2 separate regions of the Homo sapiens genome follow, and region 2 is linked to region 1. The links are contacts of gene promoters, found by promoter capture Hi-C in blood cells and fetal thymus (Javierre and others, 2016). All regions are on one chromosome and are shown on one strand. Each heading gives the region's core, a stretch centred on a gene start or on the middle of the fragment in contact. The rest is flanking DNA. Distances are from core to core; before and after follow the strand shown.

Evidence for each region. Contacts are between HindIII fragments. The CHiCAGO score rates a contact against its expected background, and 5 or more counts as called.
Region 2: a contact is called between a fragment that was not itself captured here and the fragment with the promoter of RBM48 in region 1, in 1 of 17 cell types (non-activated CD4 T cells). The highest score is 9.6, in non-activated CD4 T cells.

The regions. Positions count from the first base shown.
Region 1 is chr7:92,526,497-92,531,233 of GRCh38, reverse strand. RBM48 (RNA binding motif protein 48) reads right to left here and starts at 2,439. Exons shown (of 5, transcript NM_032120.4): 1 at 2,310-2,439; 2 at 1,568-1,758. The coding sequence starts at 2,420. PEX1 (peroxisomal biogenesis factor 1) reads left to right here and starts at 2,714. Exons shown (of 24, transcript NM_000466.3): 1 at 2,714-2,927. The coding sequence starts at 2,799. RefSeq lists enhancers at 2,136-2,515, 3,116-3,295 and a silencer at 2,656-2,885. The HindIII fragment of the contact is 3,452 bases long and covers 1-2,627 here.
Region 2 is chr7:144,835,526-144,840,262 of GRCh38, reverse strand. TPK1 (thiamin pyrophosphokinase 1) reads left to right here and starts at 4,210. Exons shown (of 9, transcript NM_022445.4): 1 at 4,210-4,296; 2 at 4,645-4,703. The coding sequence starts at 4,661. RefSeq lists an enhancer at 4,000-4,069 and a silencer at 4,370-4,469. The HindIII fragment of the contact is 227 bases long and covers 3,338-3,564 here.

The DNA of each region.
Region 1 (4,737 bases), core at 1,190-3,689:
TCATACAACCCCAAGAAGTAGATAGGTCCCTTTACCATACAGATTTTATGGAAGAGGAAAAACTTAAACAGGTTAAATAACTTGCCCAAGATCATGAAGCTAGTAAGCAGTGGAAATGGAAAACTTACTCCAAACCCAACTTTTTTTTTCTTTTGAGACAGAGTCTCACTCCATCACCCAGGATGGAGTGTAGTGGCCCATAAGACTCACTGCAACCTCCACCTCCTGGGCTCAACTGATTCTCCTACCTCGGCCTCCCAAGTAGCTGGAACTACAGGAATGCACCAACACACCCAGCTTGATTTTTGTATTTTTACAAAATACAAAATACTGGCCATGTTGGCCAGTCTGGTCTCGAACTCCTGGGCTCAAGCAATCTGCCTACCTTGGCCTTCCAAAGTGCTGGGATCAAATCCAACTTTTTCTTTTTTTTTTTTTGAGACAGTCTCACTCTTGCCCAGGCTGGAGTGCAATGGCATGATCTTGGCTCACTGCAACCTCCACTTTCTGGGTTCAAGTGATACTTGTGCCTCAGCCTCCCCAGGAGCTGGGATTAAAGGTTTGCACCAACACAGCCGGCTAATTTTTGTATTTAGTAGAGTGAGGGTTTCACCATGTTGGCCAGACTGGTCTTGAACTCCTGACCTCAGGTGATCCACCTACCTCGACCTCCCAAAGTGCTGGGATTACAGGTGTGAGCCACGTGCCTGGCGTCAAACCAGAATTTTTTTTTTTTTTTGAGACAGAGCCTTGCTCTGTCATCTAGGCTGGAGGGCAGTGGCATGATCTCTGCTCACTGCAATCTCCACCTCCCAGGTTCAAGCAATTCCCATGCCTCAGCCACCTGAGTAGCTGGGACTACAGGTCCGCACCACCACACCCGGCTAATTTTTGTATTTTTAGTAGAGGAGGGGTTTCCATCATGTTGGCCAGGCTTGTCTTGAACCCCTGACCTCAAGTGATCTGCCTGCCTCGGTCTCCCAAAGTGCTGGGATTACAGGCGTGAGTCACCACGCCCAGGCTTCAAACCCAAATTTTTTTTTTTTTTTTTTTTTTGAGGCAGAGCTTCCCTCTTGTTGCCCTGTCTGGAGTGCAATGGCGCAATCTCGGCTCACTGCAACCTCTGCCTCCCGGTTTCAAGCGATTCTCCTGCCTCAGCCTCCCGAGTAGCTGGGATTACAGGCCTGCGCCACTAGACCCAGCTAATTTTGTATTTTTAGTAGAGAGGGGGGTTTCACCATGTTGGCCAGGCTGGTCTCAAACTCCTGACCTCGTGATCCGCCCACCTCGGTCTCCCAGAGTGCTGGGATTGCAGGCGTGAGCCACCGTGCCTGGCCAAACCCAACTTCTACTCTACCAAGCTACAGGACATTAAATTGTTAAGCATGGGAATGATGTGATGGATACAGTGTTTCAGTAAAGTTAACTTTTAAAAAGGCTGGAGGAAGATATGCTAGATTACGTTTTGGGGTAATTCAGTTATGAATGAGGGAAACTTGGGGCCAAAATGACAGAAATATGAATGGAAGAAATGAGGAAATGAGTCATTTCTTAACTTGCACATTACCTTGCACTTTGTAAGTTCATAAATTTAATAAGATAAACTTCAGTAAAGTCTTCTGCTGGGTATTCATCTAGAGCATTGTACTGTTCAATTGCACCATATAAAGCGAATCGCTCAACTAATTCCTTCATGACTCCCACAGCAGGAACTCCTTGTATTAATAAGTACTGAGATTCCAAATTGATTGTATATACCTGAAAGAAATGCAGAGTTATTAAACGTATTTCGCAAATAAGCCTAGGACGAATCTGCCTCTATTTTTTTTTAAAGAGAACTTTGAAAACAAGAAATAATCTGTTCAACCCAGTCAGCAAAAGAACACAAAATGAAATTTCTGCCATTCCTTCTGCATAAAGAATAACAGTCCATGTGAGAGGCTACCTAAGGCATATAACAGACTACCTTCAGTCGACATTTTTTTCCAGAAATTGAGTCGGTAGAAGTCACTGGGAACAATCACTCAACGAATATTCACTGAGTGCTTACCTGTGCCAAGTAGTACTGTAAACACAGAAGATCCAATGACTAAAACCAAGGCCTATTCTCGTGGAGTTGATGTTCTAATACTTGACCAAAGGCGTCGTGAGAATCTTTGGTAACTGACCGAGGGTTCTTCACGCCAGCTCTAACGAGAGACAGATCTGACGGAAGCCTTGTCGTGCCTTTATTTCCGTAGGCTGGTCATATGGCGCTAGCACTCACATAAAGCTACCGAGGAGAGCGAATGAAACCAAAATCACTTTACCTTCACAGCACGAGGCCGTCGTCCCTCTCGATATTTGGCCCGTGTGTCGCATACCGCCCTCTGGACGTGGTGATCAAATAAACTCCCTAGCTCCCCGCCGCTCGACGCCATCTTGCCTACTTTGATCCTCGCAGGGAGGACAACATCCGCCCTACTGAGCTCCCTTTTATCCAATAAGAGAGCGGGATGAGTTAAGGAGTGCCAGGATTGGCTGGAGAATCGACAGCGTCGGCCATCGTTTCCTGCGTGCGAAGATTTGATGAACGAGGTGCCGCCCCCGAGCGGCTCGGCGGAGAGGCGCGGTGGGTGACAGAAGCTTTCTTGTCCCACCCACTACAGGCTTACGGCAGGATGCGCAGCGGGGAGAGGGGGCGGGGCCGCAGGGGGCGGGGCCGATCGATCTCCTCCGGCTCCGACGTCCTCGGCCTGCCGGGTCCCGGGTCCTTTGCGGCGCTAGGGTGGGCGAACCCAGAGCGACGCTCCGGGACGATGTGGGGCAGCGATCGCCTGGCGGGTGCTGGGGGAGGCGGGGCGGCAGTGACTGTGGCCTTCACCAACGCTCGCGACTGCTTCCTCCACCTGCCGCGGCGTCTCGTGGCCCAGCTGCATCTGCTGCAGGTAACCTGCCGGCCCCGAGCCACCTGATCTTCAGCCTGGGGTCGGACGAGGCCGAAGCCTCTCAGGGACGCGGCGGGACACCGGCTGCCACCCGGGCGCCGCCGAAGCGCGCAGAGATCAGGGTCCCTCGACGGCAGGGCCCTTCTGGGTAGTCTCTGGATCCCACAAGTCCAGTGCAGCCCTGGGCTCGTCTTATCCCAGGTCTTTTCACTTGGTGAAACTGAACCTAGAAACGTCCTAATATTCTACCACTGTTTTTATAAATATTCCTTATTCCAGGCTGGAAAAGCTCCTGAGAAGTGGTTTGTTTTTATTATTTTAAAAGGTGTTTTCCTTGCCAGCCATTTCCAGTTAACCTGCGCTGCTGCCGTCCGGGCCGCGAGAGCGGGACGCAGAGTTGTTGGCGGAGCCCCTGTCGGTTCCCGGGGACTAAGCACCGCGTCCCATGAGCGGGAAAGGTTAATACAATGATGGTTCTGCCCTGCGTCGCTGACGCGGAACACAGCTGTAGTGTGTTAGGAACACATAACGTAGTTAAGATCACTTGAAGCTCTGCGATCAGTCGCCCTTCTGGACGTTGTGGTTAGGATGTTTCACAGTTCTAACCACTGGTGGAGATACAGCGTCCATATTTTCATAATTAAAAATAGAGGCACATGGTCTCACGAGTTTGAGTGTACTTATGGGGGCAAAAGGACGGCGTATTTGAAATCCTCATAAATCCTGGATGCATGGTACCCACCAGTGGCTAATCTATGCAATGAATAGAGTTTGCAATAATTTCAAGCATCCCTTCTTTCCACTTGAGTTACTTCCCCATACCTAGGGGAAGATATTTTTGGTCCACTGAAAACATGAGTTCAGCAGAATCCTCCTATCATCGTCGTTATTATTTTTTACCACTAAGTAGACAATCTTTTGGTTTTTGATGGGCTTTATGGCTAGAGACAAATCAGTCACTGTCACCAAGTTCCAGGTAGAAGTTGGTTCAGTGCTCTGTCAGCTTCGATGGGATTTTTCAACATGTTTTCAAATCTGCACTTAATAGTAGGAATGCTTTCTTACAGTAACTCTAATTTGATCCTAAGATGTAGTTGTTACCTTACATTCATCACTGTTTAAGAATTTAGTGGTCTTGATCTTTGTTTTAAATTTTGAGCCTTCGGGAAGTACTTATAAGAATTAATTCATGCATATCTTTTTGAAATGTAAATGTCTTTAGCCCTGGAACAAATTGCTGTTTCTGTTCAGCCCATATTAGCAGAATAGGTCAACTTTACTTTCTAATTATCAATGTAATAAGTTTATTACTTTATAGATTCCATAAATCTATACATTTATTCCTCGATGAATTATATAAATTTATAGAATTTATGTTTTATAGAAAATTTGGAAAGCATGGAAAATTATTAACAAGAAAATAAGTTACCCATAATCCCAGAACTTAGAGGTGACTAATGTTGACAGTTTGGATCAAATCTTCCAGTTTTGTTTCTAATCTTTATTTTTAACATAAATGAGGTCCTGTATACACACGTACAGTTTTGTGTCCTGGTGTTTTTATTTAATGTTATTATGAGTGTTTTATTTTGTTAAAAGGTCATCATTTTAAGTTGTTAATTAGTATTCTAGCACAAATTTGCCATAATTTATTTAATTGTTTACTATGATTGACCATTTAGATTGTACTTAATTTTTAGGCATTAGAAGTGATAAACTATATTTTAATCAGACGTTGAAAATAACACATCTTTGTTTAGAAAACATCATTTTATTTCTGGTTGTCTAGGATAGATTCCCAGAATTCTTG
Region 2 (4,737 bases), core at 2,202-4,701, about 52 Mb before region 1:
ATATTGGCCAGGTGTGGTGGCTCACACCTGTAATCTCACCACTTTGGGAGGCATGGGTGGATTTCTTGAGGCCAGGAGTTTGAGACCAGCCTGGCCAACATGGTGAAACCCCATCTCTACTAAAATTACAAAAGTTAGCCAGGCATGTTGGCACACATCTGTAGTCCCAGCTACTCAGGAGGCTGAGGCATGAGAATCACTGGAACCTAAGAGGCAGAGGTTGCCGTGAGCAAAGATCATGAGATTGCAGCAATTCAGTTCCATCTTCAGGCGCCACTTCTAATTCTAGTTCTCTTGCTATTTCTACCACATCTGCAGTTATTTCCTCTACTGAAGTCTTGAGCCTCTCAAAGTCAGCCATGAGGATTGGAATCAACTTCTTCCAAACTTCTATTAATTTGGATATTTTGACCTCCTCCCATGAATCATGAATGTTCTTAATGGTATCTAGAATGGCAAATTCTTTCTAGAAGGTTTCCAATGTACTGTACCCAGATCCATCAGAGGAATCACTATCTATGGCACCACAGCATTACAAAATGTGTTTTTTAAATGATAAGACTTGAAAGTAGAAATCACTCCTTGATCCATGGTCTGCAGAATGGATGTGTTAGCAGGCATGAAATCATTAATCTCCATCAGAGTTTTTGGGTGACCAGGTGCACTATTAATGAACAGTAATATTTGTAAAGGATTTTTTTTTTCTGAGCAGTAAAATAGTGGGTTTAAAATATTCAGTAAACCATGTTGTAAACAGATGTGTTGCCATTCAGGCTTCGTTGTTCCATTTCTAGATACAGGCAGAGTAGATTTAGAATAATTCTTTTTTTTTTTTTTTTTTTTTTTTTGAGACGGAGTCTCTCTCTGTCACCCAGGCTGGAGTGCAGGCCCAATTTCAGCTCACTGAAACCTCCACCTCCCAGGTTGAAGCGATTCTCCTGCCTCAGCCTCCTGAGTAGCTGAGATTACAGGCACCTGCCACTATGCCCAGCTAATTTTTGTATTTTTAGTAGAGACAAGGGTTCATCATGTTGGTCAGGCTGGTCTCGAACTCCTGACCTCGTGATCTGCATGAGCCACCGTGCCTGGCCAGATTTAGCATAATTCTTAAGGGCCCTAGGATTTTCAAAATGGTAAACAAGCACTGGCTCCAACTGACAACCACCAGCTACATTAGGCCTTAACAAGTGAGTCAGCCTGGCCTTTGAAACTTTGAAGCCAAGTATTGACTTTTCCTCTCTAGCTATCAAAGTCTTAGATGTCATCTTCTTCCAATAGAAGGTTGTTTCATCTCCATGAAAAATGGCCACCTTCATCAATGATCTTAGCTAGATTTTCTGGTCAACTTGCTACAGCTTCTTCATCAGTACTTGCAACTTCACCTTGCTCTTTTATGTTACGGAGATGGCTTCTTTCCTTAAACCACATGAACCTCTGCTATCTTCAAACTTTTCTTCTGCAGTTTACTCATTTCTCCCAGACTTTAAGATAATTCAGAATCAGGGCCTTGCTCTGGATCTGGCTTTGGTTCAAGGAAATGTTGTGGCTAACTGGATCTTCTACACGGACCACTCAAACTTTCTTCATAGCAATAAGGCTGTTTATCTTTCTTATCATTCATGTGTTTAGTGGAGTAGCACTTTCAGTTTTCTTAAAGAACTTTTGCTTTGCATTCACAACTTGGCTAACTGATACAAAAAGCCTAGCTTTCTTTTGACAAAACTTTCTCACTAATCTTGATCATTTCTAGCTTTTGATTTAAAGTGAGACACATGCAGTTCTTCCTTTCACTTAAACACTTAGAGGCCATTGTAGGAATATAAAATGGCCTAATTTCAATACTGTCGTGTCTTAGGGAATAGGGAGGCCCACGGGGAGAGAGAAACAGGAGAATGTACTGGTCCCGGGGCAGTAAGAAACACACAACATTGATCTATTAAGTTTGCCGTCTTATAAGGGCATGGCTGGTGGCACCCCAAAACAATGACAAGAGTAACATTAAGAATCACTAATCACAGATTGTAATGAATATATTAATGGAAATATTTGAAGTATTGTGAAAATTACCAAAATATGACGCAGAGACACGAAGCAGGTACACGCTTTCGGAAAAATGTTGCAGATAGACCTGCTTGATGCAGGCTTGCCACAAACTTTCAATTTGTAAAAGCGGTATCTGTAAAGCACAATAAAGCTAAACACAATAAAAGGAGGTATGCCTGTAATTCCTGGTATGAAGTACCATAATTCTCCATTTTTTTCCCATTATTTGTTAATTTATTTCACATTTACTGAACTTATCTTGGTGAGACACACTGTGTGGCTGGAGAAATAGCAGGGAAGGAAATAGACAAGGCTCCTGCCCTTAGAGAGCTAGCTCTCTAGTAGGGGGAGACAAATCATTAACAAGTAAACTGTGCTAGAGTGAGGATTCAAGGGCCAACAACTAAATTTTGGTCCTTGTTTTCCTGGAGCCTACATTTTAGGGTAATTAAATAAAATATAAAAGACCTCAACACTGACTGGAACATAATAATTGATCAGTAAGTGTAAATTTTTATTACTGCTTAAAAAATTGGTTACAATCTGCCATTGAATTCATTGTTCAAGATTTCGTTCTGAATATTGGTGATGTGTTTTTGCCATTTGACTACCTTCTATAATTTGCCTTGCCTGTTTATATCCTTGGTCATAATTTTTCTGGTTTGCCTTTTACTAATGGACATGTAGTTCTGAGGCAGAATAGGGTCTGGAGGCAGGGAATGTTAAGGCCGATTCATGCTGACTTCCTGGAACTAAATCAAATTGCAGTACTTCAGCAATGACAGGAAACATCCTCTCCATTTACACAGGGCTTATATCCAGTAAATGACTTTAAAATTTACTTCATCCTCTTCATTTACATAGGGCATAAGCCAAGTAACCAATGGAAACCTCTAGCTGGCATTTAAACCCCAGAACATTCTCTAACGGCACTCTTGAGCCCCTATCCTCGGGCGCTCCCAACCTATGGGGTGTACTTTCATCTTCAATAAATCTCTGTTTTTGCTTCATTCTTTCCTTGCTTTGTGCGTTTTGTCCAATTCTTTGTTCAAGACGCCAAGAACCTGGACACATCAACTGGTAACAGCTCTTCATAGGATAAACACATGGCAACCACTTGTCTATTACATGTGCAGATAGTTTCCTTGTACCCCAATTGTCTTTTAGGTTCATTAAGGTCATATTTAAACATGGACTTTTGAAATTTGTTGTAGCTAAACCCGTATATAAGCATTTAGGCTTCCTCCTTCTTTGGGTCTTTTCTTGTGGACTCCCATGCACATAGCTGTAAGCTTTTCCCCTGTTAAACTGTCTTAAGTCAATTTAACCTCTTAGGCCCAGGTGGAAACCTTAAGAGGGTAGAGGGAGATTAGGTTCGCTCACTATTGGAAAAGCCTGTATTGCAACAGTGACGCTCTGCAGCTGCAGATAGGTGGCTTAAAGTTTCTTCCAACAAAAACATTCTGTTTCCACAAAGCAAAGTAAGGAAAGCTCTTAACGGAGTGTTCCCTAAAGAAAGCTTTTTTTTTTTCTTTGAGATGGAGTCTCGCTTTGTCGCCCAGACTGGAGTGCACTGGTGTGATCTTGGCTCACTGCAACCTCCGGCCTCCCGGGTTCAAGCGATTCTCCTGCCTCGGCCTCCCGAGTAGCTGGGCCTACAGGCGCGCGCCACCATGCCCGGCTAATTTTTTGTATTTTTAGTAGAGACGAGGTTTCACCATGCTGGCCAGGCTGGTCTCGAACTTCTGACCTCATGATCCGTCCGCCTCGGCCTCCCAAACTGCTGGGATTACAGGCGTGAGTCACCGCACCCGGCCAGGAAGGAAAGCTTTTAACCCGACGGCTCAGGGAGGACACCGGTAGCAGGACTAGAAGCAGCACAGTGGAAAGTAAGTTTGGCTTGGAAGCTAGGTCAAGCATGGGTGATAGGGAATTCGCCACTTAGTTTGAAGCAAATGGCCTCCTTGTTAAAGCTGAGTGCAGAGGGCCCGGCAGCAGTACTACAGCTAGCAGAACCAGCCCAGAAAACGAAGCCTTGGAGACTTGAGGTGGGTAGTGCCGGACGCAGAGCACAGGGCGCGGCTCCCACTTGCCTCCGGCTCCCGGAAGCGGGCGGGGCCACCTCGCGTCCCGGGGGCTAAAACCTGCGAGCGAGGACCGCGCGCCAAGGCTCCTCAGCCGAGCGCCGAGCGGTCGATCGCCGTAGCTCCCGCAGCCTGCGATCTCCAGTCTGTGGCTCCTACCAGCCATTGTGTAAGTGCGACTGCTGCCGGGCGCGCGGGCCGCGGAAGGGGGCGGCCGCCTCTCGCTCCCCAGGTTCCCGGATGGTGATGGGTTCGCGGAGAGAGGCGGCAGGGGCAACCCCTCGGACCTCATAGCGGCCCGCGCGGCCGGTCTCCGGGGGCCCCCGCCCGCGGCGGTGCTGTAGGCGAGCCGTGGCGGGTCCCCAGCGCCGGGTGCTGCGCCGCAGCTCAGCTGGCTCCTGGGTCCCGGAGCGCGCCGCTGCCGAGTGCCAGGTTCAGGCGGCTCCCGTGCTGTTGGTTCTGCGCGATGTTTAATTAAAACTGAGAGTCTAACTTCACTTTTTTTTTTTTAATGCAGAGGCCAATAATCCGTTATGGAGCATGCCTTTACCCCGTTGGAGCCCCTGCTTTCCACTGGTACTGTATTTCTTTCCACGGTTTAGTGTCACTG